3 separate regions of the Homo sapiens genome follow, and all the other regions are linked to region 1. Evidence: promoter capture Hi-C in human tissues and cell types (Jung and others, 2019). All regions are on one chromosome and are shown on one strand. The core of a region is centred on a gene start or on the middle of the fragment in contact, and the rest is flanking DNA. Distances in the headings are between cores, read along the strand shown.

Evidence for each region. Contacts are between HindIII fragments. The study calls those that stand out against the background at their distance.
Region 2: a fragment that was not itself captured here is called in contact with the fragment with the promoter of SV2C in region 1 in 3 of the 25 tissues and cell types used here (adrenal gland, dorsolateral prefrontal cortex and stomach).
Region 3: a fragment that was not itself captured here is called in contact with the fragment with the promoter of SV2C in region 1 in 1 of the 25 tissues and cell types used here (small bowel).

What each region holds. Positions count from the first base shown.
Region 1 is chr5:76,082,047-76,085,181 of GRCh38, reverse strand. SV2C (synaptic vesicle glycoprotein 2C) reads right to left here and starts at 1,799. Exons shown (of 13, transcript NM_014979.4): 1 at 1,670-1,799. SV2C-AS1 (SV2C antisense RNA 1) reads left to right here and starts at 1,765. Exons shown (of 2, transcript NR_183290.1): 1 at 1,765-2,263; 2 at 2,786-3,135. RefSeq lists an enhancer at 2,435-2,988. The HindIII fragment of the contact is 16,764 bases long and covers 1-3,135 here.
Region 2 is chr5:76,124,860-76,127,861 of GRCh38, reverse strand. All of the region lies in intron 1 of SV2C (synaptic vesicle glycoprotein 2C), which reads right to left. Among named protein-coding and RNA genes, the nearest start is that of SV2C-AS1, 43 kb to the right of the region's middle. The HindIII fragment of the contact is 3,228 bases long and covers 1-2,873 here.
Region 3 is chr5:76,029,045-76,032,260 of GRCh38, reverse strand. It overlaps a transcript of SV2C not described here. Among named protein-coding and RNA genes, the nearest start is that of SV2C, 53 kb to the left of the region's middle. The HindIII fragment of the contact is 5,569 bases long and covers 1-3,216 here.

The DNA.
Region 1 (3,135 bases), core at 550-3,049:
CACGAGCACGAGGCCTTTCGGAACTTGCCATGGAAAATGAGTGAACGCCTGAGAGATTAATGCCACATTCTTCAGAATTAAGGATAAGAATTAAACGGAAGCTACCGCGCTAGCAGTCAGCTAAGTATGAAGGGATTAGGTTCAGCGGGAGAGGAGACCATCACGGCATCCCGGTCTCATCTCCTTAAGGCTCTCATGAGCCTTAAAAGACGCCTCATCTCCTCGGTCCCCCGGGGAGCGCCCGGTAGCTGCGGCTCCTTCCCGGCACTGCGGCGCACTGCGGAGCCGCCTGCCCGCCAGCCCAGGCCGTGCGGGGCTTTCCTCGCCGCCCCGCGCCGCCGCAGTCCTCCCGCCCCCCTCTGCCCCGCCGGGTCGCCGCTCTCCGCGCCAGGCGCGCCGCGGGGCATCCATCAACCCAGAGCTTTTGACGCACACACGCGCGCTCCCAGACGGAGACTCCGTCGCCTGCCCCCGCCCGCCACCCCCGCCCGCCCCTCGCGGGTCTGCATTTGCATCACTCGCACACGTAGAAGGTGACGCGAGCGCCCCCAGCTCAGGCCGTCCAGGCGGCACCTCTAGCCCCCGTGGCTCAGCCCCTCCCCCCGCCCCCGCGCGCCGCCTAAGGTCCCCGCACGCCCACAGATCTGCTCCCGATTGTTCATCTGCCGTGGGGTGCTGGCTGCCCCAAGCCAAGTTCATCCCCGTATTCCGCAGTCCCCGTGGGCCCAGCCCGGGGCGCTCCCCGCGACGCTCTGGAGAAAAGTCTTCCCAGTTCTAGAACCCAGGCGGAAGGGGAAAAGCCCACTAAGAGAAAGGGTCAGAGGGTCGGCTGATGGCTTTTGCTGCCCTCATCGCCATCTAAGATTACCTCGGTAGCTTATTTACTGCGATTGGTCCCTCTCCCCTCTGAGCTTCACAGCCTCGGGTCTGCTTCGCCTGGCCTGGCGCACAGCAGGCGCCCAAAAGGTTTTTGCTGAATGAAGGCGTTGTAACGTAGGAAGTGCAGGCGCTGACAAAGAGCCTCAGCCCCGCGGGCTCCCCTGCTCTCCAGCCCTCTCTTGCTCTCTCTTAGACGCCAGACAGGCGCTTCGGGAATGTATGTGGGAGAGTTTGAAAATTCATGGTGTTTCTTTCAGGCTCTCTCAGCACTTACTGCGGCTACCTCTGCTCTCCCGCCACCTGCACGTCTGCAGAGGGATCCCCGCCGAAAAGTTGAGCCTAAGGCAGCTATGAAGGTATAGGTCCAGGTACCCAGCCCGGGGCTCTAGGCTGCTAGATTTGAATCTGCCTATCCCTGCCGGTCAAACCACACAAGCAAAAAAGAGCGTGGCGGTCGCTGCAGATGCGGCCCCTGCATCCCCGCTGCTGCCCACCCACCTCCTCTGGGAATCCCAGATAAAGTGCGACCCAGTCCCCAGACCTACCCTAGCGAACCCTGGGGTCACTGCATCTATTTTACCCCTACTTTCCTGGTCCCTCTCCAACAAAGGCGCCTACAAAGCAGCGGGCACCTGCAGCCGCTTCCCCGGGGGCAGGCGGGGCAAAGTTGCGCTTCCGAAAGGCTGCAAAAACTTCCCCAGGCTGCAGCGCCCGGCCACCAGTCGGGAAGAGAAATCCAGCAGCGGGGGAAAGTCTCCCCGCGGATGCCCGCTTCACCTCCCCCACTCACCGCTCCAGCCGTCGGACACCCTTGCCCTGAGTGGTGTCAGCACTGCAGCCGCCTCAGTGCGGGCGCCGCTCCGGCTCGCTTCCCCGGGCTGCCTCCGTCTGCCACTCTCGCCTGCAGCGCGCGGAGTGGTGACTCCTCTGAGCGTGTCAGCGGCGAGAGGAGGGGCGGGAAAGTGGCTCCCGGCTTGCACGCTGCGGTCCTCCTCCTCTCCTCCGCCTGCCTCCTCCCCCTGGTGCTGCAGTGCCGGGCGGCGGCGTGGCGAGAGTACCAGCGGTGCGCAGGGAGTCACGGCGCGCGGGGGAGGCGGGACCCGCGCGCCACTCGCGGTGCTCCGGCAAGTCGCGGTGCTGAGGCGCTGCTGCGGTGTGGGACTGGGGCAGGGGGCGGGGAAGGAGAGCCACCTCCAAGTGGTAGGTACTTCTGGAGAAGTCAGGGCTCTGAGTTTGTAGCAGGTGAAGGAGAGGGGCGGCAGTCCTTAATTAGTCACCAACTGTGACTGTGCGTTGCGCACTTGGCGGCGCCCCGGGTCAGGTCCAGCGTGAGACGCGAGGGAGTTCTGACTGCTGGACTCTGTTAGCACCGGACAAAAAGAGGGTTTGTATTCTATTTCCGGGCCTGGGACTGACTTGTTCACTTCGACTTGGCTTCCAGGGAGCAACCAGGCAGAGCTAGGTTGCCTACTTCCCCCAGCCCCCACCCCGACGCTGGAAGACAAGTCCAGAGGAAACTTGGGCACAGCAAGAGCAAACAGAAGAAAACTTCGCTGGGTTAAGTCTACTGTCTCCCCAATGCTACATAGGGCCAGACAGCTGGGCTCACAGGCAGATATTGAAAGTGGCCCCTTAGAGGGGAAACAACCAAATATGAGGGGGGGGGGGTGGAGAGAGAGATAGAGAGAGAGAGAGGAGGAGGAGGAAGAAAGAAAGAAAGAAAGAAAAAGAGAAAGAAAGAAAGGAGGAGGAGGGAGAAAGAGAGAGGAGAGAAGAGAGAGAGAGAGGGAGAGAGAGAGAGAATTTTGCTTGTGTTGTTAGAAACAAACATTTCTCCCCTTGGCGTGCAGGAGAGAGAATTTTGCTTGTGTTGTCAGAAACAAACATTTCTCCCCTTGGCGTGCAGGAGACCCCAACTCGAGCTTCACTGTTCCAAAGCGGTGGGCCAGGCGGCTGGAGAGAAACTCGCTCCCGTGAGGCCACACCCAGGCCTGGCGCACCCACCCCGCGGCAGCAGTGGAGGGCGTCGCCCTCCCGGGCCTTCCGACGCAGACCCTGCCATCCGGATGCTGCGGGAAGTAGGGCATCCTCACGTCCCTGACTCCTCCGGCTCCGCGCGCTCACGGAACCCAAGTGGAGTGGGAAGCGGTCACACAGGCGTGTGCCGTCCCCGAAATCGTTGCTCCTGTGGTGGTGACCCAAAGCGAGACAAAGCGCCGCGCCAATACGGGCTGCAGTGATTGGAACTCAAACACA
Region 2 (3,002 bases), core at 10-2,509, 43 kb before region 1:
AGGAACTCTGGAGTATAAATTATGCCTCGGAATTTTTCCCCACTCGGGCAAAGGTGCTAGGCTTTCATAACCCCATGCCAACTGTTGGCTGAGGGGTCCTGGGGGCAATGGTGGAATGTAGGAGCTTCCTGTTCTCCGCACCAAAAGGCAAGGCAGTTCCACTAGCCTGAAGGCAATCCTCTGAAGGTGCTGGCCGAGGAAGGCAAAGGCACACTGAAGCCAAGTGGGGAGAGCACAGAGATGATGAAAGGGGTCCAGGGACCCAGGGCATTAGCAGTATCTCCTGTAAAACCACTTGATAAATATTTGTTTAGATGCCCTACTCATCATGCTAAGCTGCAGGATACATAGCCGATTGAAACTGCATTTATAGAAGCGGCTGTTAAACCAAACAACGTTCACAGCGAAGTGAATCTGATATAGTCAATGACATGCACAATCATTGTGTGTGATATTTTGCACAAATATGTAAAATATAAAGAATAATTATACACACGGGCATTATTCTGGCAAAACACAGTTTTTCTTCTTTTTGCTCCTTTGATGGTTCATGACAAACACACATATCCAATACCACTACATACTATTTTAAAACTTTCCTACACAAGCTCCCACCCTACACAACCCCCAACACACAGATGTTTCTCTTGGTGTTTCCCCACACCGCCCAAACATGCAGTCTTCCCTTTGCTTTACTCCTCATCACCACCATCAATCAAAAGATCTTGGATAGCTCCGCCTCCCCCAAATGTTCTAGAATCTTCTGGATGCTGGGAGAGTCCATTCTTCTAACAATTGTATTTATGCAGCTTTAAAACCATTGTGCCCTGATAGAGTAATGATAGCAATAATAATGGCTAATCCGTTATTATGTCAGCCATGTGCCACGCACTTCAGATGCATTATCACACAATAATGCTCACAAACATTGTATGGGGTAGGTACTTTTAAAAATGCCCACTTCACAGATAAGAAAACTGAAACCTGGCCAGTAACAATGCGACCCTATGCAATGCTACTCCAGAGCCCAACCACATACCCACTACATCTGCCACGTTTTTGTGGAAATGGGAGCCTGTGATGGAAACAGGGATCTGAAACAGCATGGGTGTGTAGAAGGCAGCCCCCATGCCAGCAGACTCGGGCTCTTCTAAAGTACTTGCAGATATGTAGTGTGCTGGGATTGGGCAGAGGGGCTCATAACATCCCTCTTCCTCTCTTAAGCTTGGATCTAGAAGAGACATTCAACACAGAAGACAAATGGTGAACTACCTGCCAGCTGACTGGACAACTGTGTCCAACTTTATCCCTGATGCCACACCTCCCTCCCAAGTCAGGCATGCTGGGCTACAAAGGACTCCTTCTGGAGTGGGGTGGGGTTGAGAGGGGAGCTTTCCAAGAAGCTTTCCGCACTGAGCACATCTTTGAGATGAAGAAATGGAAACTGACCCATCATCCCAGCCTGTCCAAATCCCTGACATTAAGTGTTTATTATTTAGAGACACCTCTTGCCCTCCAACCCTGTAAACTACCTGTATGCCTACATTCTCATTCTTTAAGGTGCAGTGCAAAAATCACGGTTCAAAAATCACTTCTTTCATGAAACGATTTCCTTTCTTTATTGCTTAGCCTAATCACATCTTGCAAGTTAAGTGTAGCTGGTTTCCTCCTGGCATTCAATCACATTTTCCATTATGCTCACCAATACATGTGATGGCCTTCCCTATTACAGTGTAACTTTCCTGAAAACAGGAAACTAGTAAAAAGGAACACCATAAAGTAATGTTATTGGGTTTTTTGTTTGTTTTTTGAGACAGGGCCTCACTCTCCCACCCAGGCAGCAGTGGCATGATCATGACTCACTGCAGCCTCAGCTTCCCAAGCTCAAGCGACCCTCCCACCTCAGCCTCCCAAGTAGCTGGGACTACAGGTGTGCACCACCATGCCAGGCTAACATTTTATTTTTTGTAGAGATGAAGTCTTTTTATGTTTCCAAGGCTGGTCTAGAACTTCTGTGCTCAAGCAGTCCTCCTACCTCAGCCTCCCAAAGTGCTGGGATTACAGGTGTGAGCCACTGCACCTGGCCTTAATGTTATTAAATGAGGACTCAAGCACCATAAGGGGTCAACTCTTAGTTCCTCCACTTTCTTTATCAGGCAGTTGTCTGGATCAGTAGTCCCCCAAGGTGCAATCTGCACCTTGTGGTCCTATAAAGTACTCTGACTTTATATGACTTTATATGCTCTCACACTTACTTCATGTGGAGTATGAGTAGGAGGGTTACAGTACAAAGCCTGTTATAAGGAACCTTGCTTAAATTTGTTACCCAATCATTTCCAAACTTTCCTAATAACAGAATTCCCCACCCTCAGCATGACACCAGTGAGCAGTTCTCATTATACATTTTATGGAAATACTGTATTAAGATGAACACTAAAATCCTTTAAATTCTAATGTCTCTATTATAAAATACCATAACACTAATTAGAATTAATTGAAAGAAGCAGGATAAAAGGCAGAAAATCTACATTAAAATAATATTTCTAAAATAAAATACAGTATTTCTTTCAAGTGTATCAAAAACTGAAACTAAGTTTTCCAAATGTAATTGCTTATGATTTTTAAACAGACTTGCTATAAAAATAGAAAGTATTTAGCATATCTGTGTATTTTTAAAGCAATAAGTCATTCAAAGAGCCTGGAAATTTTAATTTTAAGTATATTAACGTTCATTTTTATGCAATTTTGACACAGTTAATTTGCTCTATGAAGAATAGATCTCATAAACCAGGGTAAAGACCTCAGCAGTTGTCCAAATCTCTACAAACCCCAGATTAGTGAAATCTAAAGGCCTCACACAAATGGCAAACCTGTTTGCATATATAAACTTTTGTGAAGGTCCCAGAAATATCCTCAAGTGAGTCAAAGTGGGCACTATCCTTCTTTGAAGAAATACTTGAATTCAATTTAGTACAGAATCTTTCTTTCCGATTACAAAACCA
Region 3 (3,216 bases), core at 537-3,036, 53 kb after region 1:
TAATAAAAAAAGATTATTTATCACAGGAAAAAAAAAAGAAGATATGGTCACTGTCCCTAGAGAAATCATATTATTTTCTTGCATGTATCAGTTAATCAATAACAATAAAGTAACTCTGTTCTTTGAATATTCATTAGTTATCACTTAATAATCTGTGCTTATACTCCATCTCATTCAAAAGGAAAGATTTTAAAAGGCTCCTTTCAAAAATAGAAACAAATATATGTAGAGTCTTCCCATTTTAGTAGGTTTGCTTTGGGTCTTATGAACTAATGACTAAACTACCTTTCCATCTTACTCAGGCTGGGCTATGAGAATGGAATCCATATATTACCTCAGGGAACTCAAGGCAGCCAGTAAGCTTTTGGAAAGCTGAAAACCAAATATTTCGGAAAGTCCCTGGACAAGTTGCTAAACTCTTAAATCAATTCTGTGCCAGTTGTAAATAATATAGCGATAGCAGAAATATTCTTAATAACATAATTTCTAATGTCAACTAATTAATTCAAGCTGATGGTATTAGAGTATCACTCTGTCCTTTAATAAATGGGCCTCCTGTTACATTGTGACCTAGGTAATAATAAAGATATTGAATATATTAAGGTCTCAGGCAGTCTTTTATGGGCAAGATAATCCTTAATGTAATTGCTATTTGATCAATAGAGGGTTTGAGAGGGTTAAGCACCTCCATCAGGAAGTGCAATTTCTTAGTTACTGAACCTACAAGCCACTTGATGATGCTGCCCAACTGCAGAGTCAGGTAACTGGGCCTGGGAGCAGCCCCTGGCAGGCACCGAGTGGATCAAGGTAACAGCAGCAAGAAGGGGTGTGTAGGTCTTGCCTACTGCTCCAGCGACAGCCAGCATTGCCGTGTGACAGCCCAGTCAGAGGGATTGGTGATATGGGCAGTGGATGCCATTATTGGCAGGGTCTGGGATACAGACCCTCTGAGTGCATATCATGTGGAAAGCACTGGCATCAGGTGTGTAGCTGGCTGTGATGAGCAGGCAACATGCCCACTGACACTGGCTGTAATGAGAGTCAGAAGCCAGGGACCAAATGATGATCAGTTTGGTAGGGAAGTTGTGGGAGAGTCTGATGCAATCCCTTCACCAAACTGTGACTTGGAGGCATTATTTCATCTGTGACAGTTAGATCAAACAAAAGATCATACCTGCAATATTTAAAATTCATCACATCTTTTCAAAAATATCATGATATGCTGATGAATATTTTGCACCATTTATATTGCTTGGTAATCCATTGTATGCTCTATTGTTTAGTTGATTTCGAGAACAGAAAAAAATTGTTGAAATATTTGATTTATGTATTAATTTATATTATCATACTTATTATTAACTATTGTTAGGTATTTTGAATATCACCCCTGGAGAGGCCCCAGATTGTAGCCAGCAAAATATTCAGTGGCTACTCTCCACTCCAGAGGGAGGCACAAACCTTTCTTTTTTCTTTTTTTTCTTTTTCTTTCTTTTTTTTTTGAGACAGAGTCCCACTCTGTTGCCCAGGCTGGAGTGCAGTGGCACGATCTCAGCTCACTGCAGCCTCCGGGGAGGCACATTTCTAAGCTAGACTGCCCTGAGAGAGACAGAATACGGCTGCCAACCACATGGATGGTGCTTCTTACAATTGTGCAAAGTGATAGCTCCAAACCATATACATATCATGAACACATCTTTTCTTAATACAGATGACGTCACTATTAGAGCAAATCAGCATTACTTACTTCTATAGGTCCCTTTCATTGCTAGGGTAATAGTTCCCAGATGGCATCTAACTCTGTGAATCCTTGATCTGTTACTTTTAGAATATTCTGTGACCAGTGAGTCTGTGAAGTGCTCAATACGCCCTTTCTTCTCCAAAAGATTTCTGGATGTGTGGGCAAATAATTCTTATTCCCTACACAAATGAGATGGAAACTTTTCCAAAAAGAACTTTACAGGAATAAATAAAAAAAAAAAAAAAAAAAAAAAAAACAAGCCTCTGACCAAAGCATTCTGTCTTGTAGGAAAATTATTAAACCAAACCAAAATGTGTAAATATTTACACATTTTGTCAAGGAGTCCCTTGACAGTGGCATATATTAAGAAATAAAGCCTTTGTTAGTTACTCAGAATTTACTGGAATTTAAAAAAATAAATAGGTAATCATTAAAATCCTTCTATTTAAAGTGGTTTCCCTGACCCTTCAATGCTATGAAGTACCCACCATAGAAACCGGGGTCTGCAGTCACCTGGATCGAAATCTGCCTCTGAAATCGAAAGGCTCCATTCAATAAGTTCTGAAAAGAGGAACTGAAGCAGAGACAGAACCTACTTCAAGAACTTGCTCTGATTACAGAATCTGGTCAATGGCTGTACCCAGAGCTCTTACTAAAAGATGCCAGACTGAGGTCCAAGCTGACATTCTGCTGATTTTTATTCCAAAGTAAACATCGCCACGGTAAATGGTATTGTAATGGACAGTTGCAGGTTAAGCTGAATGTTTTTAAAGCAAATTCTTGGATCTGTAGAAGAGCCAAATATTTGTTTACTTGTCCCTGAAATTACACATGCTGGCTGAATAGGGTGGATAAAAATGGCTAGAGACTTTCTAATAAGTGTAAAAATAATAAGTGTAAATTTTTGCCTCAAATACTTCTTAGTACTGTAGTCTGATTTAGTACTGTAGTCTGAATTTTTGCCTCAAATACTTCTTAGTACTGTAGGGCTTTCTCAGATTTTGGTTGAGGAATCACTGTGGTGTTTGTTAAAATGCAGATGACTGTATCCCACCTCATGTCTATTCAATGACTCTCTGGGAGTGGGATTGAGAATCTGTGTTTTAACGAAAACTCTACTGATCATTAAGAACAGAGAGGTTAGGGGGTTGGGGAGATGGTCAAAGAACACAACATTTTCAGTTAGGTAGAAGGAATATATTCAAGAGATCTATTGTATGACATGGTGACTATAGTTAACAACAATGTATTGTATTTTTGAAAATTGTAAGAGGATAGATGTTTGGTGTTCTCACCAGAAAAATAACTGTGTGAGGTAGTGCATATGTTAGTTAGTTATATTTAGTCAATCTACAATGTATACATACTTTAAAATATCAAATTGTGCATAATAACTACATACAATTTTTTCTGGCAATTTAAAAATCATGAAGTTTGAGAACACTTGTTCTATAAGACAGGATGGGTGGTATTCATTC